Linked DNA regions of Homo sapiens: region 1 is linked to region 2. Evidence: promoter capture Hi-C in 16 types of primary human blood cells and fetal thymus (Javierre and others, 2016). All regions are on one chromosome and are shown on one strand. Each heading gives the region's core, a stretch centred on a gene start or on the middle of the fragment in contact. The rest is flanking DNA. Distances are from core to core; before and after follow the strand shown.

Region 1 (6,222 bases), core at 3,606-6,105, 210 kb after region 2:
TACCACTCCTGGCTAATTTTTGTATTTTTAATTTCTTTTGTAGAGCTGGGGTCCCACTATGTTGCCCAGGCTGAATTTTAATTAATTTAAACCCAAATAGCCATACATGGCTCATGGCTGCCATACTGAAATGCACAGATTTGGCCAGGCGCAGTGGCTCATGCCTGTAATCCCAGCACTTTGGGAGGCCGAGGCGGGCAGATCACGAGGTCAGGAGTTTGAGACCAGCCTAGCCAATATGGTGAAACCCCGTCTCTACTAAAAATACAAAAATTAGCCGGGCATGGTGGCACCTGCCTATAGTCCCAGCTACTCAGGAGGCTGAGGCAGAAGAATTGCTTGAACCCGGGAGGCGGAGGTTGCAGTGAGCCGAGATCGCGCCACTGCACTTCAGCCTGGGAGACAAAGCGAGATTCCATCTCAAAAAAATTAAAAAAGCACAGATTTAGACCTTTCCATCCACCCTCCAAATTGGGTGAACACCCATCTAGTTGTTTGACCTGATGCAGTCTCAGATGAGAATGCGAGCACCTATTTCATGTAGATGAGGAGAAACTGACCCAGAGAAGATAGTGATGGCCTGAGGTTACACAGCTGGGTGGGACACAGCTGGCCCCAGGCCCAGATCAACCTTTTCCTCCACATGGTCAGTCAGCTTGTGCCCCCTCCCGCTGTGGCCCAGGCCAGCCCCCAAGATGTCCACATCTTTGGCCAACTGACCCCCCAGCTTATCCTCTGTGGTCTTCAGTTACCAACATGGCCTGAGACATGGGTCAGATAGCCCTTCCAGAACCCTCAAAGAGTATGTGCATGGTGAGGCCCCTCAATGCTCATACCCTTGGCTTCAGATTTTCAGGGTCCTAGACAGTCATTTCTGGAGAAATACTTAGGACCCATCTACACAAAGTTGAACTAGATGCAAGATAGCAGATAGCATACACATCACCATTTTCCATACTGTCCATGGCAGACATCATTAATCAATCCTCACTGCAACTACCCTCACTCCAGTTTTTTGCTTCAGCTTCGTCTCTGGCCTCTGCCTCCATTCCAGACCCCTTTCCCAACATCCATTCTGTATAAGAGGGCTAGATTAATCTTCCTTAAATACATATTTGGAGTGTTGGTTCTGCCACTTCCTCACTGGGTACCCATGGCAAGTGTCTTCCCCTCACTGACCCTTGGTTTCTTTCCTTGTAAAATAAAGGGATTGGACCATAGGATGGTAAATATCCAGCTACCTACCGCCACCCCCATTCCAACATTCAGGACAGACATTGCTAATTGATTATAGACCTCTTTCACACTAAATTCAGATGTGACCTTGAAATCTATTAATCAGTGTGGACCCTGATTTTTATCACAGTTAATATCCTGAGATATTCCAACTTTGTCCTCATTATAGAGATGGGAAAATTGAGGCCCAGAGAGGTAGGACTGTTTCTTTCTTAAGGGCTCCATCTCCCCATCCCATACGCTGAGTGAGATGGACAGGGGTGGGCTGAGGTCAGACCCCACAGACTGTCCAGCCCTGCCCTGAGCCCACCACCAAGAACCGCTCCCCCCAGGATGGGCAAGATAGCCAGCTCCCTCATGCCTGCCTTTGCCTGGACAGGTACGGGAGGCAGAGCTGAGTGACCAGTATGAGGCGGCCTGCGAGTCAGCCTGCAGTGAAGCGGAGTCCACAGCGGCAGAGACGCTTGACTTGCCACTGCCCAGCTACTTCCGCTCCCGCAGCCACAGCTACCTGCGTGCCATCCAGGCAGGCTGCTCGCAGGAGGAGGACAGTGTCTCCCTGCAGTCCCTCTCCCCACCGCCCAGTACCGGCAGCCTCAGCAATAGTCGCACGCTTCCGAGTGAGTACTGTGATGAGGGAAGGGGTTTTTTTTCTTTTCAAGGGGACCCCAAGGACCATACCTGGAGGGCCAGCCTGGGAGGATACAGGGAGGAATCTGTCTCAGGCTGGCCCGCACCAGGGGGATGGTTGGGAGCAAAAGCAGGAGGCCTTGGAGCTGAACTTCCAGCCAATTGGCCACTGGAGCTCAAATGGGGGTCCCAGAGGCAGATGCCACCCCTGGGGGGCATGGGAGGTATTGGAGGGGCTGGAGCTTGTAGGGTACTTGGTTGCTCCTTGGCTCAGAGCAGCCACCTGCTATAGTCAGGGCTTACTGCAGCTTGACCTGCCTCTTGGAATTAGTTCAGGTAGGCAAACCTGTAGGGCAGGTTGGAACCTGCAGAGAAGCCTGCAGTGAGGGTGGGGTCTGCACTGAGCCTTCTCAAAGGGATGTGTTTTACAGGCTTCTCTCATATACACAATCAGGGAATACCTTCTGGATTCTTGGGTGTTTTGTTGTTGTTGAGACAGAGTCTCACTCCACACCCAGGCTGGACTGCAGTGGCATGATCTTGGCTAACTGCAACCTCTGCCTCCCAGGTTCAAGCAATTCTCATTCTTCAGCCTCCCAAGTAGCTGGAATTACAGACACATGCCACCATGCCTGGCTAATTTTTGTATTTTTAGTAGAGATGGGATTTCACCATGTTGGCCAGGCTGGTCGTGAACTTCTGACCTCAAGGGATCTGCTCATCGTGGCCTCCCAAAGTGCTGGGATTATAGGCGTGAGCTACCATGCCCAGCCCTGGATTCTTGTTCTAAATCATCTGAAGATAACCCATATGTGATCAGAGAAAAAAGGGGACCCTGTATAACTGAGCAAGCCATGAAATAATAGAAAATTGCATGTTCTCACTCATAAGTGGGAGGTAAACAATGAGGACACAGGGAGGGGAACATCACACACCAGGGCCTATCAGGGGGGTGGGGGGGGGGGAGACAAGGGGAGGGAGAGCATTAGGACAAATATCTAATGCATGTGGGGTTTAAAACCTAGATGATGGGTTGATAAGTGCAGCAAACCACCGTGGCGCATGTATACCTTATTAAGTATTATTAAGATGGTCAAAAAAAAAAAAAAAGACGTAATAGAAAATTAGCTGGGTGCAGTGGCTCACGCCTATAATCCCAACACTTTGGGGGGCCGAGGCAGATCACTTGAGCCTAGGAGTTGGAGACCAGCCTGGGCAACATGATGAAACCCGGACTCTAAAAAAATTAAAAATTCGCTGGTCGGGTTGGCATATACCTGTGGTCCTCGCTACTCAGGAGGCTGAAGCAGGAGGGACATCTGAGCCCAGGAGATGAAAGGTGAAGTGAGCTGTGTTCACACCACTGCACTTCAGCCTAGGAGACAGACCAAGACCTTGTCTCAAAATAATAATAATAGAAAATCAAAACCAAGGAAAAACAGCACAATTTATTGTTTATCAATAGTAGAGAGAGGTTTGAGCTTACTCTGGCAAGCTAGTTCGCCTTCCTGAGCCTCAGTTTCTCCATGTATAAATTGAGGGCATAAGCCAGACTCCAGGGATCTCTTAGGGAGATGAAACAAGACTGTGCATAGGACATGTTTAGGCAGGGACTTTCTTGTGGTAGAAGCTTGGTAAGTGGTAGCTGTTATTGTTGGTTCTCAGACCTGACTCTGAGCTTCCTGAAAATCAAAAACAATTGGGGGCTGGGCATGGTGGCTCATGCCTGTAATCCCAGCACTTTGTGAAGCCAAGGTGGGCAGATCACTTGAGGTCAGGAGTTCGAGACCAGCCTGGCCAACATGGTGAAACCCCATCTGTACTAAACATACAAAAATTACCCGGGTGTGGTGGTGCACACCTGTAGTTCTAGCTACTTGGGAGGCTGAGGTATGAGAATTGCTTGAACCCGGGAGGTAGAGGTTGCAATGAGCCAAGATTGAGCCACTGCGCTCCAGCCTGGGTGACAGAGCAAGACCTTGTCTCAAAGAAAAAAAAAAGCAATTGGGGTTGGATTGTTGTAGGAAGAGAGGCACTGCTTCAAGTGCTCAACCGGTGTTTGATGTAAATAAATGTCTTCTCTGTTCCTTGTTCACCTCTGTTTCTGGTTCCTCCACTTGGGAAGGGATGGTAGCCAGGGAGGTGTCGTCTGGCATCGGGACTCTCTGATGCCACATACTGGCTCTTTCTCGCACCCTGCAGGGTCCCCAGTGCCATCTTTCCCAGCATGGGCAATCTTCATTCACCTCACTGTTTCTTATTCCCCCTCAGCTTCTCCATCTGGCAGTCTGCCTCCTCGCCACTCAGCTTCTTTCTGCTAGGGCACCTGGCCCTGCTAGTCAGGCATCTTGGGTAGAATCCTCTGAAGACAACTCCAGCCCTATTTTCCCTCTTGGTGACCACTTAATGTATTTGAAAACAAGGGCCTTTGCCTTCTGGGACTCTGAAAATATAGACTGGTCTGCTACAGCCTCCGAAAATACAGACTGGCCCGCTACAGCCTTCCTTCTAGTCCTGCTGTTACCGGTAGCCCTGCCAGCCTCTCCACCTTCAAGGTCTCCAAACAAGAGCTGAGGCCCAGGTTCTGTGGCCTCCACATCCAGAAGAGCTCTCCCAGGCTGTCCCAGGCACTCTGCTACAGTTCCAAAGGGGCCGTGGGTGAAGGATAACATCCCCCACATCCTCACACCCATGCGAAGTTCTCTAAGCATGAAGTGGGCCTGGAGGGATAGACAGCACCCCTAGCAATTCTCTTCAAATAAACCATCCCTCACCAGTTTTTCCAACCCCAGTCACTCATGAATGGACTAAAGATAGGGGATGGGCTACATGTCCCAATACTGCCTGGGTCCCTGTATTGGTCAGCTCTTGCTACAATTATGCTGCATAACAAACAACCACAAAATCAGTGTAATACAACAATTCACATTTATTTCTTGCTCCCAAGTTTGTCAGTTGGGACAGTTCTGCTCCACATGTCTTTCATCCTCCTCCTGGGACCAAAGAGTCCTCCTGGGATCAGTGGTCTAGCCAGGGCATGTTCTCCTTATGGTGATGGCAGAAGACAGAAGAGCAAGCCTAACTAACCAAACAAGCACATTTCAAGGCCTCTGCTCATGTCATACCTGCTAACATCCTATTGGCAACACAAGTCATATGACTGAGCTCATAGACAAGGGATGGAGAAGTATCTTCTCACCTTTGTGTAGGAAACTATATTCATATGGCAAAGGGTGTGGCCACAGGGAGAGGTAAAGAATCAGGGTCTGGGTGGGCGCAGTGGCTCATGCCTGTAATCCCAGCACTTTGGGAGGCCGAGGCAGGTGGATCACTTGAGGCCAGGAGTTTGAGACCAGCCTGGCCAACATGGCGAAACCCTGTCTCTACTAAAAATACAAAAATTAGCCAGGCGTGGTGGTGCCCACCTGTAATTCCAGCTACTCAGGAGGCTGAGGCAGGAGAATCGCTTAAGCCCGGGAGGTGGAGGTTGCAGTGAGCCAACATCACACTATTGCACTCCAGCCTGGGCAACAAAAGTGAGACTCCGTCTCAAAAAAAAAAGAATCAGGGTCAACAATTCTATGTTCCATGATCCACTGTCTTGGCTGTATTTACTCATGCCCTTCCCAGGTAGAAAACTTTTATTCCCAAGACCCCCAAAAGTCTCATCCAATCATGAGATTGGATCAGACTCTTATGATCTATGTCAGGTCTGGATGTGGCTTCTGTCGAACAATTGACTTTTAATTTTTTAAAGAAACTACTTATCTACCCTACAGTCTAACCCTCCCCAACCACACAGCATACACTGGTGAAACAGGGACAGGAGAACTGCAGTTAATACTCCTGTTCAGAAAAGGGGAAAGTAGAGATGCAGAGACTTATTGATCCATGGCAATTCTGAAGTCCTTCTGAGCAACTGTTGGGCAAATGCGTTGAGATTTGTTGATTAGGTACAAGTTCTCCCTGGGGTTGATCTTCTAGTCTACTGTTCTCCACAGCTCTTGGTTCTGCTCTCTGAAAGCCCTTCCTTCTCCATCAGCATTTTTGGCCACTTTTAAAGAGAACTTGGAGAATATAGCCTTGGGGAACGGAACACCTTTCTTAGCTTGCTTCCTTCCTAAAGAAAGTTAGGGAGCTAGATGTCTTTTGCATCTTGAACGGTCTTACTCCCTTTAGCCTAAGCTGGTCAATTTTACCCATGCACCTACCTCAAACATTTGATGAGTTTTCTATGTATTTGATTCCCTGTAACTTCGAGTGCCAAAAGCCATACCCATAATTGTTTTTGAGTCATGCCTCTCTCTTGACTTGATGCCTACTTTGGGCTTCTGTGGGACCATGCCCTTAAGCTTT
Region 2 (6,928 bases), core at 3,273-5,772:
CTCAGAGGGAGGATCCTTGTTGTGGATTTTGCACCTGGCTTTGGGGCAGGGGTGAAGTGACCAGGCTTAGCTTGTGGAGTTTATGGGCCACCAGGGTTTGGGGAAATCACCATCCCGCGGATGCTGTGACCTCCCTTCTACGGAGATGCAGGCAGTGCCACGAGGGAGGAGGGGACCTGCAAAGCTAGAATCTAGGGCACTGTTTCCTCCCCATCCTTCTCTTTGTAGAGAATAGAGACGTTTGTCTTGTCTGTCTTCAACCTACTTTTCCTTTTCTCTTTTTTGTTTCTCATCCTCTCTGTGCCACCTCTCCACCCAGGAGGCCATGTAGCATAGTGGAAAAAGTCCCTGAGGGCGGTTAGGAGTTCTGGGTGACCATCCTGGCTCAGCTCCTAACTCACCATGTGACATCAGGCTATCCCCATTCCCCCTCTTGGGCCTCAGTTTCCCGACTTGCAAAATAAGCAGAAAGAACCAGATGCTCTCCAGGGTCTTTTTCTACTTTGCTATCTCATGGGTCTTCATTTTCTCTTATTTTGTTTTCTCTGGATCTTTTCCATCTGAGGGTACAGGAAGTACCAGGACCTGTTTCAGTTTTTGAATCCTGCAAGCACATTCCAAGACTGGCCTGAAACTGCATGAGCAACATCACTCGAAATAATTTTTTTTTTCAAAAGCACCTTAACAACCAATTGCGATGCTGTCCTGTTCCTTTTTACTCACACCCTTCTCTCCTTTCTCGTCCCCATGCTCCCCCACCTCAGTGCTCCGTGCTGTATGCGTGTGCTCTCTGTTCTTGTATACTCAATATAAGTGAAATAAATGTGTTTGATGCTGAACCATACTTCCTTGGCACCTCTCCTCTCTCTCTCTCTCTCTCTCTCTCTCTCTCTCTCTCTCACTGTCTCTCTCTGACTTTGGCCACTGGTACAAGTTGGCACTGTGGGAGGGGCTAAAACTGAAGTGGAGACATCCCAACTTAGAACATGTTTATGCAACAAATATTTGGAACTCAAGGTGGTCCAGGCCTTGGGTGACTCTCCAGGCACAACACAAACAAGACAAAAGTCCCTGCCCTTCATGAACCCACAGGCTAGTGGAGGAAACAGATGCCAACACAGGCAAACAGTCCGTTACAGAGCACTCAGCACTAGGAAGGAAATACACCGGGAGAAGGGAAGGAGGGTCACTGAAGGAGACCACTTTAAATACAGTGGCCAGGTAAGGCCTCCCTGAGGAGGCGATCTGTGAGCTGAATGAAAAGAAGGATCAATCAACAAAGGCGAGGAACTTTGGTGCACATTCTAGGAGAGGGAACAGTAAGCATACAGGCCCCAGGACGTGGAGGGGCTTATTGAGCGGAGAAACAGCATGGTCCCTCCTCCTGAAAGAAGAGTACCTACATTGGAGTCTCTCTTCCTGTAACCCCCCTACATGGGAGCCTAGTGGGAAAAAATACAGCAATCCTCAACTTCGGCCTTTGCCCAGAACCTCTATATATGTTCCCATATCCTCATACCACCTGTCCCATTATTCACTTATTTTTCTTTAAATTGACTCAGGTCAAGTGCAGTGGCTCACGCCTGTAATCCCAGCACTTTGAGAGGCTGAGGCAGGCAGATTACCTGAGGTCAGGAGTTCAAGACCAGCCTGGCCCACATAGTGAAATCCCATCTCTACTAAAAATACAAAAAATTAGCCGGGTGTGGTGGTGCACACCTGTAATCCCAGCTACTCGGGAGGCTGAGGCGGGAGAATCGCTTGAACCCAGGAGGCGGAGGTTGCAGTGAGCCGAGATCGTGCTACTGCACTCCAGCCTGGGTGACAGAGAGAGACTCCGTCTCAAAAAAATAATAAAATAAAATAACTAACTAAATAAATTGACTCACGTTAAAAGCAAATGCATTTAAAAAGGAAACTATATTACTTCCACAAATGAAAAGCTTATGTTATTTGCCAAGAAAGGAGGTCTTCATAAAATAAATGCAAAAATATTAAAATTAACAACCACAATGCACTTAAAACCTAAACTCATCCCTTGGACCACCTGAGGTGCACACACCACACTTTCCTTTTATTCCACCAAGCAACTCACCTCAGCCCACCTTTATTGCTGCAAATCTCACCAGCGAGTCTTTTCCATGTGTATGTATTTTTCCAGAGTTGGTCATCTTGTACATACTTTTGTAAATACTTTAAAATATATATATGTACATATATGTATATATATGTACATATATATCTATATACACGTATATATATCCTGAGCATTTCCGTATACTTTCAAATACTAAATACTTATTTTCTTTGGAAAGGTAATTCATTAAATGATACAAAGACTATGCAGTGAAAAGTGATTCTTCAGCCTTCTCCAGATTTCTGTCTCTTGTCAGAGGCAATTGCTGCGAGGAACATTATGAATCCTTCTCTGAATTTTCCCTATAGGTCTCCTTTAGCAATCTGTTATCCCTAGGGTTCTGGAATAGGACTTGGTTTACAAACAATGGGTCTTCATATGATTCCTCAGGACCCCATACACCCTGATCCATATTTCTGTCTCCCATAAAGGACCATCCTGACTCGGCTTTTGTCGAATAATCAAAGGTAAGTTCACCCAGATTAGTGTTTTTCAACTGCATTGAGAGTGGGGAAATGACCCCTCCTCCTTTACCCCCAACCCCCGCCCCGGGGACATTTAGCAATGGTTGTCACAACTGAGGGGTGCTACTAGCTCTAGTGGGTAGACGCCAGGGTTGCTGCTAAACATCCTACAATGCACAGGACAGCCACATACAACAAATACTTATCTGGCCCCAAATGTCAATAGTGCCAAGGTTGAGAAATTCTGATCTAAATGGACATGTGACCCACAAGGTGGGACTCCTAGGCCACCATTTACAGCTTCTACAACCAGTGTTCAGTGTCCTGGAGTCTCTGAAAAGACGGTGAGCCCAACTGAAACAGGGAGCTTTGAGACCAGACCATAGAGCTCAGCACTTAAGACTGGGAGTGGGGAGGGGTGGAGAGGGAGCTGAGCTTCTTCATGCAGGAGATGAAACTTGACAGGACAGGCTGAGATTGGTAAGCATGACTGTGACTGATGGAGGCTGTCTCTGGTTAATCCTGCAGCAGCTCATTGTGATTAACCATGACTGCAGGGCCCGGTCTAGTCTGCAACCCACTAAGAGATAAATTTTGACCGAGACAGATTGGCGTGTCCAGCTGTCACTGAGGAAATGTGACAGACAAGCTAAGGAGCAGCAGCACAAGAGATAAGAACAGACAGCCCTTGGTTTGCATTCTAGCTCTGCCATTCTCTGGCTGTGTAACATCTCTTTGAACCTCAGTTTTCTCTTCTGCAAATTGGGAATACACATACCTTACAAGGGTTAGTGCAAGGATTATAAATACCCAAGTGGGCCGGGCACGGTGGCTCATGCCTGTAATCCCAGCACTTTGAGAGGCCAAGGTGGGCAGATCACCTGAGGTCAGGAGTTCGAAACCAGCCTGGCCAACAAGATGAAACCCCGTCTCTACTAAAAATACAAAAATTAGCCAGGCACGGTGGTGGGCGCCTGTAATCCCAGCTACTTGGGAGGCTGAGGCAGGAGAATGGCTTGAACCCAGGAGGTGGAGGTTGCAGTGAGCCGAGATAGCGCCATTGCACTCCAGCCTGGGTGACAGAGTGAGATTGCGTCTCAAAAAAAGAAATACCCAAGTGGCCTGCCCTAAAATCACATAAGCCAATTCTTGGCAATAAATCACTTAATATAGATCTCCTACTGGCTCTGTATCTTTGGTGGAACCCTGATTAATAGTGCAGGGTTAGACCCACAAATAGTTATTTATTAATACCAAATTATCATCATTATTAATTAAATGCATAATATATGTACTCAGCTGAGCTTTTGTGCCTGGCTTTGTGCTCGGTTCCAGGGAAACAGTGAGGAACAAGACAGGCAGATTCCTTCCCTAGTGCGTTGATAGCCTGACTGAGATGTTAGGACTTGGCCTGCAGGAAGGACACGGGGTGATAATGGCCAGAGGGACTGAGGTGGCGACCGCTGCTGCTGCAGCAGCGGAGGCTGACGCTGGTTCTCTCTGGGCTGGTGGCTGGGTTTCTGAGGCTCTCCCCGAGGGCTGAGTGTGACTGGAAGCTGAGACACTGTGACCGGGATAGAGACTGGCTGACAAAGACAGTGACCGAGCGCCTGACTGGCTACTTCTGAATAGTAGCCACTGGTACAAGCCTTGGCTGTGCTTTAGTGACCATGACTGCTTGAGCCCAAAGTAAGATGGCTGGTGGCTGTGTTTCTGGACGGGGATATAAAATGCATAGGTTAATGAAAGTTGTTCACAATTCAGAAGCTAAAACGAGAAACTAAGAATAACAAAAGGCAACCTTGCATCCGGCGGAACCTGCAGGCACGGGCCATTCTTCCCGCGACCCAGGGCTCTGCCGGACCGCTTCCCCCGTCGCTCCAGTCAGACGCCAAAGCTGGAGAACTTCCGGTGCGTTTCCGCTGTACCGGAACGTGGGGCGAGGCGGTGAGTGTGGCCTCCTGGCCTCTTTTTCCTTTCCTGATTCCTTGTGTATGTGTGGCTGGGCCGCCCCTCTTCTCGGCTCAGAGTCACGGAGTGCCTTGAACTAGGCCCACCTCGCCGGGGCGGCTGGTTCTCTGTTTGTGGGACGCTGGTGTCTCTGGAGGCCCTTCCTGAGAAGCCGTCGCCAGAGTTACGTCGCGGTTTTCTTAACTTTAGAGCCTGGGGGCCGGAGACCCTGATTGCACTCGACCTGGCTCTGCCCTACTCTCTGCGTGACTTCCAGTAAGGTCTTTCCCCGAACTGAGGCTTTGTTTCTCGTTTACAAAATGGATATCATACTTGTATTAAATAAATGTTTACTAAGCGTTGAATCTGTGCTAGGGATACAGCAGGACTCAAGTCTCGTGGCGATGACAGCCTTCAATCAAACATCCAAAACTGCAGTTGTGATCATTGAGACGGAAAGGTACAAGGCACCCCAGATTATATCACAGGAGACCTGACCTAGCCCCAGGGCAAGGAACCTTTACTGAGGAGGTGAATATTGAGCTGAGATCAGAAAAAAGGATTTGACAAAGTGGGGAGGGAAGAGTTTTCTATATGGAGACAGCCTCCAATTTCAGGTTCTGAAAGAGGCCGTTGTGGCTGGAACAGAGAGCTTGTGGGGGACCATTGTGTGACACAAGCTAAAGGGGTTGCCAGGAGTCAGACCGTGCAGGCTTTGTAGGTAATAGGAAGAATTCTGGTTTTTCAAGAACCATATGGGAAACCACTCAGAAGCTGACATGGGTGGTGTTGTGATTAGATTGGCATTTTGAAAAGGTTACTGCTGTTGAATGGAGAATGGGTTGAGGAGCAAGCACTCTGAGTGAGGGACGATGGTAGCTTGGATTAGGGAGGTGGTGGAGAGAAGTGGATGGATGTGACTTTAGGTGTTCCAGGACTGTGAGGAACTCACAGAGCTGTCAGTGACAGGGGCTGGTAGACTGCAGAGTTCTATGCATATTTAATAAACGTTTTCCTAGCATCTCCTCTGTGCTAGGCCCTGTGCCAGCTGCTGGAGATATAGTGAATAGAATTACAGACTGGTGGAATTAGCATGAAAGAAACGTCATTATCAAGGAGGAGCACACAGATGTCACAAGGGAAAATGGCTAATTGATGAGCTGTTATTGTAAATGGAATATCTGTTCATTCAGCAAATATTAAATACTTTCTGAATTCAGGATTACAAATAGGAAGATGATACGTATTATTATTATTATTATTATTATTATTATTATTATTATTATTATTATTTTGAGACGGAATTCGCTCAGACCCCCAGGCTGGAGTGCAGTGGTGTGATCTCAGCTCACTGCAACCTCTGCCTCCCAGGTTCAAGCAATTCTTCTGCCTCAGCTTCTCAAGTAGCTGGGACTACTGGCGCACACCACCATGCGCGGCTAATTTTTTTTGTATTTTTAGTAGAGATGGGGTTTCACAGTATTGGCCAGGCTGGTCTCAAACTCCTGACCTCATTATCCATCCGCCTCGGCCTCCCAAAGTGCTGTGATTACAGGCGTGAGCCACCACGCCCGGCCTGTTGATACGAATTATTTAGAGCAGAGTCTTTCAAACTTTTATGACTGTGACCTACAGTAACGAATACATTTTATGGCACAACCAAGTATACACACAAACACACAAAGCTCCAGAAAACAGTACTTAGCTTTACTACTCATGATGTATTGTGATATTTCAAAAATTCTGTTATTTTCGTTTAAAAAATAATGCTGGTTGAGACCTTCACATTGATTTCCTAATCCACTAATGGATTGTGACTTGCAGTTTGGTGAAACACAAAGTGCTGATTCAGGGTAAGAGTCATTTGTGGTGGTTTTGAGGTAACAATGATAAAATGTGCTCTTATTTTTGGAAAAGGATTGGTCTTCCTTTCTGCACTGCTTTATTTAAAGTAAAAAGGGTAAACAGGGCCAGGCATGGTGGCTCACACCTGTTATCTCAGCACTTTGGGAGGCCGAGGCGGGCAGATCACTGAGGTCAGGAGTTCCAGACTAGCCTAGGCCACATGGTGAGACCCTCTCTGTACTAAAAATACAAAACTTAGCCAGGTGTGGTGGCACACACCGGTAGTCTCAGCTGCTTGGGAGGCTGAGGCACAAGAATTGCTTGAACCCGGGAGGTGGACGATGTAGTGAGCCGAGATCACGCCACTGCACTCCAGCTGGGGTGACAGAGCGAGACCCTGTCTCAAAAAAAAAAAAAAAAAAAGTAAACAATTAAACAGGCAGCTCGTTTTTCTGTGTGTGAAATTTTGACGTCTTGGCTAGATTGGAATTGCCTAGAGGGCAGTGACTGTCTTAATCTGTGATGTTTTTTG

Evidence for each region. Contacts are between HindIII fragments. The CHiCAGO score rates a contact against its expected background, and 5 or more counts as called.
Region 1: a fragment that was not itself captured here is called in contact with the fragment with the promoter of AAR2 in region 2 in 3 of 17 cell types (endothelial precursors, M1 macrophages and M0 macrophages); the score reaches 7.9 in endothelial precursors.

What each region holds. Positions count from the first base shown.
Region 1 is chr20:36,445,082-36,451,303 of GRCh38, forward strand. It overlaps DLGAP4 (DLG associated protein 4), which reads left to right. Exons shown (of 13, transcript NM_001365621.2): 7 at 1,616-1,856. Among named protein-coding and RNA genes, the nearest start is that of MYL9, 93 kb to the right of the region's middle. The HindIII fragment of the contact is 2,722 bases long and covers 3,495-6,216 here.
Region 2 is chr20:36,231,956-36,238,883 of GRCh38, forward strand. AAR2 (AAR2 splicing factor) reads left to right here and starts at 4,523. Exons shown (of 4, transcript NM_001271874.2): 1 at 4,523-4,548. LOC105372602 (a long non-coding RNA gene) reads right to left here and starts at 4,511. Exons shown (of 3, transcript XR_936695.2): 1 at 4,403-4,511. It overlaps EPB41L1 (erythrocyte membrane protein band 4.1 like 1), which reads left to right. Exons shown (of 22, transcript NM_012156.2): 22 at 1-844. The HindIII fragment of the contact is 9,166 bases long and covers 1,942-6,928 here.